Regions from separate parts of the Homo sapiens genome. Here region 1 is linked to region 2. The links are contacts of gene promoters, found by promoter capture Hi-C in blood cells and fetal thymus (Javierre and others, 2016). All regions are on one chromosome and are shown on one strand. The core of a region is centred on a gene start or on the middle of the fragment in contact, and the rest is flanking DNA. Distances in the headings are between cores, read along the strand shown.

The links. Contacts are between HindIII fragments. The CHiCAGO score rates a contact against its expected background, and 5 or more counts as called.
Region 1: a fragment that was not itself captured here is called in contact with the fragment with the promoter of TNFSF8 in region 2 in 8 of 17 cell types (M1 macrophages, M2 macrophages, M0 macrophages and 5 more); the score reaches 8.1 in M1 macrophages.

Annotation. Positions count from the first base shown.
Region 1 is chr9:114,662,566-114,666,935 of GRCh38, forward strand. TEX48 (testis expressed 48) reads right to left here. Exons shown (of 5, transcript NM_001199233.2): 5 at 3,869-4,181. The coding sequence ends at 4,078. Among named protein-coding and RNA genes, the nearest start is that of TEX53, 6.9 kb to the left of the region's middle. The HindIII fragment of the contact is 2,628 bases long and covers 1,159-3,786 here.
Region 2 is chr9:114,928,980-114,933,128 of GRCh38, forward strand. TNFSF8 (TNF superfamily member 8) reads right to left here and starts at 1,612. Exons shown (of 4, transcript NM_001244.4): 1 at 1,130-1,612. The coding sequence starts at 1,324. RefSeq lists an enhancer at 706-1,265. The HindIII fragment of the contact is 2,687 bases long and covers 434-3,120 here.

The DNA.
Region 1 (4,370 bases), core at 1,223-3,722, 270 kb before region 2:
TTTTAGTACAGAAAAATTACGCCCTCTTACCCTTAGGTCTAACCTATGAGTCTCATTCACCTGCAGCTGGCAGAGTGGACAGGAGGCTGTCTGTGATGTCACAGAGTGGGGGAACCGGGGAATGTTGGGGACAGTGGGGTTTGGACTGAACCACAAAGGCAGGGAGGAGGGAGGACATATGCTGAGCCCCTCTCCAGCAGTCCATTCCTTTGTCCACCATGCTGTAATGTCCACTGTGCCTATCAGGTCGGCTGGAGTGGTTCTGCCTCACATGTCTCTTACCCCTTTTGGGTTAGTAGGCTAGCCAGGTGTGTTCTTCTTCTGGGGCTGCTAGAGGAAGACACAGCAAGCCCCACTGTGAAAACACATTTCTAAGCCCCTGTTAGTGTCCTATCTGTTATGTTTTCATTGGCCAAGCAAGTCATATGACAATTTAGTTCCTTCTCCCCAGGAAGGGGATGTTGGTGAATTCCCGACTGCTGCCACCTCCTCTCCTGTCCTGGCCTCTGTGCTGTTGTGGCAGAAACATGCCCCAGAGTGGGCTGCAGATTCTCCCAATGTGATTAGATGGGGCCCACCCAGGTAATTGTGAATTATCTCAAGGTCACTGATTAGCAACCTTAATTGTATCTTCAACTTTAATCTTTTGCAGTGGGGTCATTATTCTGTCTACCACTGTGTTTAAACACTTGTATCAAGAAAATAAAAGAATGAAATAATTTCCCAATTCTTAAAGCTGGAAAAAGAGCAACAAAGTAAGGAAAAGAAAGTATAAGATTAAAAGCAGAATTTACTAGAGTATTAAAAAGCAGATCTAATTAATCAAAATCTTTTTTTGAAAAAAATTAACAAAATAGAAATACTGTGTAGCTTAATCAGGAAAAAAAGGAGAAAGCAAAAATATATAAAATTAGAAAGAATAAGGGGGAAAAATTGTTGAAACAAAAGAAATTTTAAAAATCTTTAGAGTCCATAATATACTTTTATGTAAAAAAGTTTGAAAAACTATGAAGTAGATAGTTTTCTGGGAAAATAGTTTATTAAATTGACTGCATTAAAGATAGAAACTATCAATTTCTGTAGAAGAAATTTATTAAGAAACTACCCTCCCCCAAACAGGCAACAGGTCCAGAAGGTTGCACAAGGAGAGTTTCACCAAGCTTTTAAAGACCAGTTACAGTACTACATAAATTGTTCTAGAGCATATAAAATAAAACTTCCAAATTCTTTTTGTGAAGCAAGTGTATATTGATAACCGCATGTGATAGGGATAATCAAAAAGAAAATTACAAGGCAACGTTACCTACCAATACTGATACAAAAATTCTTAATAAAATATTAGTGAACAGAATCCAACCTCACAGTATGAAGATAATAAATCATGATCAGGTGAAATTTATCTGTGGAATGGAAGTTTGATTCGATATGAGTAAAGAAATTGTGATTTTTTTTATAGATGCTGAAAAAAGAAAAAAGAGGGAATTGATGGATATTATATTAATATGATAAAATGGCACTCTCTCTCTCTCTCTTTATCTCTACCTCTATGCCTTTGTCCTAAACCCAACTTCTTCCTTAATTTGCAAATACTGGAGCTATTTAAAATCAGGAACGAAGCACAGATATCTACTGACTTTAACATTGTAGCGGTGGCATTAACCATTGCAATCAGAAAAGGTAAATTGGAGACATAAAAATTAGAAGAAGAAGAAGTTAAAGTATTTCTACTTGCAGATTACATAATAGTATTACTGGTAAACCATCGGAAAGCAAAAACAAAACTACTCAAACAATGAAAGAATTCAGAAGGGAAGCAAGGCATACAATTAGCATACTGAACTCAATAGTGTTATTATACGCAAGCAATAACTAACTACAACAATAGTGAGAGAGAAAACTTCATTTACAATAGCAACAAAAGATAAAATACCTAGGAGTAAAGTTAATAAGAAATTTGCAAAATTAATATAAAGAACTCTTGAAAATAGTCCTGAAAGCCAACAAAGTAGGTTTGAACAAATGAAAAGACATTGGTTGGTGGTTAGGAAGAATCAATGTTATAGATGTGTCAGTTCTTCCTGATTTATAATTTTCCCTAATTTGTAAATTTAGCACAATCATGATGAAAATAACATCAAGATTTTTTCTGAAGCTAGACAAATTGATCCTAACATTTACATGAAAAAACAAGCAAGAATAAAACAGGCATTGGGCGACAGTGAGACTCCGTCTCAAAAAACAAACAAACAAACAAACAAACAAACAAACAAACAAAAAAACAGGCAGACTCCCCAGTGGAGTAGAATAGAAAGTTCAGAAAGAGACACAAATATATATGAAAATTTAGTGTATGATAATAAAGGTGTCATCTCAGATGGATGATTGGACCAAAGATATTCTCCTTAATAAATATGCTGAAATGACTATATAATCATTTGGAGAAAGTGTAAAGTTAGATCCATACTTCCTAAATACATAATAATAAATGCCAAATGGAATAGGTTATATTTCTGATGTATAATGCTATACAAGCAAACGAAGAAGTGTGGGTGAATTCCTCTATAAACTGGATGTAGGGAAAGGCTAACGACAACCCAAAGTCCAGATTCAATGAAACATTAATAAACTTGACTTTGAGGAGCTAGTATTTCTAGTATATAAAGAGCACTCAAAAATTAACAGGAAACAGGAAAAAGAAAAAAGAGTGGAAGACATAAACAGATCATTAATAAAAACATATAAAAATGACCCTTAAACATATGAATAGATGTTAGTCTTCACTCATGGTAAGGGAAATGCAGGTTAAAACCAAAATGAGATACCGTTTCTCACCTGTAGGATTGGGAGAGCCTAAACAGTTGCTGAGGGCATGAGGAAACAGGTATCTCAGATATCATATACTCTTACAGAACAGAACTTGGCAGCATCTAACAAAACTGTATATATCTTTTCCATTTGGCTCAAAAGTCCATGCTGAAAAATTAACCCTAAAGATACACCGTATTAATCCGTTCTCATGCTGTTAATAAAGATATACCTTGGCCTGGCACAGTGGCTCACGCCTGTAATCCCGCACTTTGGGAGGTTGAGGAGGGCGGATCACCTGAGGTCAGGAGTTCGAGACCAGCCTGGCCAACATGGTGAAACCCCATCTCTACTAAAAATACAAAAATTAGCCAGGCCTGGTGGCAGGCACTTGTAATCCCAGCTACTCGGGAGGCTGAGGCAGGATTGAACTGAGTTCAATCACTTGAACTCAGGAGGCGGAGGTTGCAGTGAGCTGAAATGGTGCAAATGGGGAAAATGTAGATTAAACAATTGGTGACTCTGGGTAAAAGGTAAATGGGAGTTCTCTGTATTATTCTTGTGACATTTCTGTAAATTTGGAATTATTTCAGAAGGTATCCAAAAAGCTGTTTTCTCCTTCCTCTCTCTCTCTTTTTTCTTTCTTCCCTTCCCCCTTCCCCCTTCCCTTCCTTTCTTTCTTTCACGGAGTCTCACTCTGTTACCCAGGCTGGAGTGCAGCGGCGAGATCTCAGCTCATTGCAACCTCTGCCTCCTGGGTTCAAGTGATTCTCCTGCCTCAGCCTCCCTAGTAGCTGAGATTACAGGAGCACGCCACCACACCTGGCAGATTTTTTTATTTTTAGCACAGATGGGGTTTCACCGCATTGGCCAGGCTGGTCTTGAACTTATGACCTCATGTGATCCACCTGCCTCGGTCTCCCAAAGTGTTGGGATTACAGGCGTGAGCCACTGCGCCCAGCCAATAGGCTAAATTTTTTAAGCTTAGTTAGATGTGACAATATATTTAAAAATAATAAGACATTAGTTGGTAAGGGGGAAAGGAAAAGAGAAGGACACATCCTCTGGTGCAATCAAGAACTTTAATTGGAGGCAGCTCTTCCCATGGTGGCTTTTTAGGAGCTGGAGTGACTCTTGCTTGGTGGCACAAGGATGGCTCAGATGTCTTCTCCTCCTTCAGGGGAGTTTCCGAATTAGTCTTCATGACTCCTGTCCACCGCCCTCTTCCTCATGGAGATGCCCCAGCAGCTGTGCAGCCGCCGGCTAGAATGCTCAGGGCCTCCCAGTGAGGCATGGCTGGAATGGCCAGTGCTCCTGGCAGTAGCGGTTTAAGTTTCTCTTGTAAAAATTTCTTTGGGAAGCATATGCATTCAGATCTGAAAGAAGAAAGGAAAAAATTATGCTGGGTGAAGGCCTTTGAATTGGGCTTTGATGAACTGTTTTGGTTGTTTGTATCCATTGCTGATCATTCCTCAGCTTCTTGAATCTCAAGGGACCCAAGGCAGACCCTAGTCTAGGACTTGGAAGTCTTTTGTGATAGGAGGAGTTTCTTGCAGTGTATTTTG
Region 2 (4,149 bases), core at 362-2,861:
AAAAGTAGGCACTATGAAGTAAGAAACAGAAATATTCTCACTTTGGCAGGTCATGTGGGTGGGTGCAGCTCTTAAATTACCCATTAACAACTTCATCAAAAAATTCATGAGCAATATATGCTATTACTACAGCATTTTCTATATAATATATACTGGTAGATTCTCTGTAAACACCAATTTTCTAAAATATGAAGAAGCTTCCTCTTTCTCCTCCTCTTCTGTTTTCAGAAACAAATCTTACCATTTACTTCAAAGTAAATCTCCGAAGACAGTCTGACCCTGTACAGTGTGTACCCAACGATTGCTTAGTATTGTGAGGAACATCAGAGAGAACAGGTGCTAAAAACCTTTCAACTTTCTGCTTCTATGTGCTGTTTCTTTTTTTTTTTTTTTTGTGACGCCCTAACTTCTTCAAAGTTGTGGCTTAAGAGGAAGCTTTCGATTTGTCTTGCTGGCTTTAACACCAAAATGTCCAAAGCTCTAAGAAGCCATGGTCTTCTCTTTCGCCTCCTTTCCTTCTAGACCTTGGCCTCTGAAACTTAGCTCCTTGTATAAAACAAAAGCAAAAACAAAACTCTTGGCAATGGGTGAGGCCTCAGAAACCTCCAGGACACTCAGACTTAGGATATAGAACCTCAGAATCCAGTCTGAAGTCCTTGAAGACATGATAACAACTTGTGCAAATGTGTTATCAGGTTTCTCTATTGCTTCCTTCCTTGATATGGGTCTCTGGCTCATTAAGATTTAAATCTTAACTTTAAAAGGCCAATAGCTCCCCTCCACTGTTTTGCTCAGACAGATCTGCAAAGTTTTAAGATGATGGTCTAACAATATTTTTCTCAACAAGCCAAATTATTTTAGAGAGTTAAGTTCCTCTTTCTTTTCTCCCTTTCTCATATATATATATATATATAATATATACTGTATAATATAATATATATTATGTAACATAAGTGTATTACGTTATACAGTATATACTATAGTATATATATATATATAGAGAGAGAGAGTTTATTTATTTAATTTTATTTTGTGCTCTTAACCAACAAACGAATATCATTTGTTCCCAGGGCTCTTTCTCTCGGGAAAACAACAAGAAAAGGAAAGGGAGGAAGAGGAGTCCACTTACCGTCCTCTGAACGACCAACACCATAATAGTGGCCACCGTGAAGACAAGGCACAGAGCCAGAGTGGCTGTGGTCAAATAGAAATAGCTGCGGCTCGTGGTCCCCAGGTGGCTGGCCACGGAGCCCGCCGGCACATGCATGGCTGTGTCTCCAGGAGGGGCCATTCCGTTGAGTGCTTGCTGCAGCCCTGGGTCCATTCTTTATATAGTCTTCCCCACATCACACCTTATCTCTCTTCATCTGATTCAGTTCTGGGCCCATCTCTGTTCCAAGAAGGATTCTCCCCCTGAATCCTGAATCATGTGACTTGGAAAAAAACCTTCACCTGCTGCCTGGTGGAGAAACTCTTCTCTGGGGGCGTGAGGCGAGAGGCGGCAGCAAGGGTGGGGGAGAGGTTCATTTTTCATTGCCAGGGATTAAGTTGTGTGCAGAGAAACTAGCTACAGAGAAGGTGGCTGATGTCAGAGGGCGCGTAGGAAAATGACGGTTCCCCGACTGTGTGTGTGTATGTGTGTGTGTGTGTGTGTGTGTGTGCATGCGTGCGCACACACAAAGCAACTTCTGTTTCGTTTAGACTCTGCCACAAAACGCCTTCCTGTTCAAGAAGCTGCACCTTCTTTCAGCGAGGCCTGTGGCTCAGAAGACCTCCCCAGATAATGAGTCCTTGCTGGGTCTCAGGGAGGCCGGATCCCTCGGACTGCAGTGTAATAACTCCAAAGGGTTCGGTTTGATAGGCTACTGCTGAAAAAGGGACATGCTGCAGGTTCCCTGGGGGAAAAAGGGCACACAAATGGAGATATTTCTCCAAAGGGGGACTGGCTCATGGCAGTATGAAATTTGGGGTTCAAAGATACTGTCAGAAAGCAGGAATCTGGAAATATCAATCTTTTGAACAAACACTCCTGCAGAAGTTTTGGGATCTGTTAAACTGGCAGATGAACCTGGACCTGCCGTAAAACTCATGAAGAGGGGAAGGAATTGGCAGTGAGATGGTGTGGTGTGGAATATGGGGGCTGTGTGTGTTCTGCGTGGTGTACTATGTAGTGTGTGTGTATTTGTGGTATGGGGGTATGTGTAGGTGTTGTGTGTTCTCTATGGTATATGTATGCAGTGTGTGTGTGGTGTGCATTTGTGATCTGCAATGCATGCCGAGTGTGGTGCGTATGTAAGTGTTGTGTGTGGTGTGTATGTATGTGTTGTGTGTGGTGTGTTGTGTCTTGTGTATGTATGTGTTGTGTGTGTATGTGACTACTATAATTGAACCTCTACTGTCTCAGGCACAGCGCTAGGAGTTACATGTGGCTTCATTCCACTTCCACCTCCACCCTCCGAGGCAGGCAATGTTTATTTTTTACAGATGGGAAAACTGAGGCTCAGGGAGGATGAAAACTATCTCAACCTAAGTCGCAAGTGTCGATCACTGAAAGAACTTGGGTGCACTTTGCAGCCTGCCTGGCTGAAAGCTCGTGCTAAGTCATTCAATCTTCACTGCACCTGAAAGCTAAAACCTGAAGTGTGGTCTCAGCCCTTTCCCTTCTTAGCCTTGGGCCATCATACAAGTCTTTATGGCTTTCTCTGTTCCCAATCTGCATTACAGTCATCAGGAAGACCAAGCGAGATGATGTCAGAGTACTCCATGAATAAAAATAGATTTGGGGATGGTGTTGGACAATTCCTGTTAAACATCCCAAGCTGTCTACTGGGCTAAGTCTGGAATTTAGATACAATAGACAGATTACCTGGGGGACAGAGTCAGATCACATCTGTGGTTACTAATGATCTCCATTTCAAAATACCGTTTAAAATGTTAATCACTGCATAGCTGCTGCCTCCAGATGTGGGCCTTTGAAAGCTCCATTTGGTATCACCGTGGAAGAAGCTCATTCTGCATAGCACCTCCTTTCCTTTCTGCTCACTTTTTGTCTGCAGCGCATCACTTTGAGCCAGCAGAGATCCCAGATGCCCCTAAGGAAACGTCCTGTGTCTAAAGCCAAGCTTGGATTATTACCACTGCTGTTCTTGCATAGAACCAAAACTTCTGAGCATCTCCCAAATTAGATCAGGCTTTAGGATTTGGTCTGGATATTTCCTCCCAGTGAGTCTGTAAAAGCATAGATCCTGGAGACGAAAGAGACATCAAGAGATAAATTGTTTTCTTGGGCTAAATAGAGTGGGGGGCGATATACCCATTTTACAATCAAGGAAACCGAGGCCCCCGTGATCCCAATTGAGTTTGGTTTTGAAAACAGTGTGTTCACGTTCGTTTGGTCCGGTAATTAAGGTGGGAACGAGGCAAGCCAGTGTTTTCTGGGGCATGTACCTGGCTGATTTGGGGAGAAGGCTGTGTCCTCTGGTGGGCACGGACAGTGAGTGGGTAGCAAGGGCTCTGTGGTCTGCCCAGAGTTGCTGAGAACCAGCTGCTCCCTTGGCCCTCTTGTTCAGCCTCTTTGATCAAAGTGGAAAACTTCTGATTGTTGAATGGAAGCTGTGGGTGTTGAAAAATAAAAAGGCTTTGCTTGAAGTTCGGGTCTTCCTGAAGGCCTGTGGGGCTGAGAAGGGCAGTGGAAAAAAATGTTTGTCTTACAGTTACCCGTTTTGCATACAATACAATGTCCTGGGAGGGAAGGCTGACAAGGGGGAAAAATCACCCTTTGTTTTTACTCAACTTTCTGAGCAGTTGAGATTTTCGGATCAGTTCCTAGTACAGTAGTTTGTGGGCTCAATTCATTCTTTTGCTGTGACACTCCTCTACTCACAAACCTTCAGTGGCTCCCTATTTCCCACCCCCATTGCTCTAAGCCCCTCTCTGCTTTCCAGCTGTTCTAGAATCTAGCCTGGCCAACATAGAAATCCATGACCTGTGCTAACTGGCTTCTTTCTGTCTTCTACTCAAGCTGTACGATGTGCAGATGGAAGGAGCCTTTATAGAATTTCTTGTTGAGTAAGTTTTAAATCCTTTCTGGAAGCAAAGCTGTATAAGGAATATAAAAACATAAGAAAACAGGGCTGCTTTGGCTGAAGC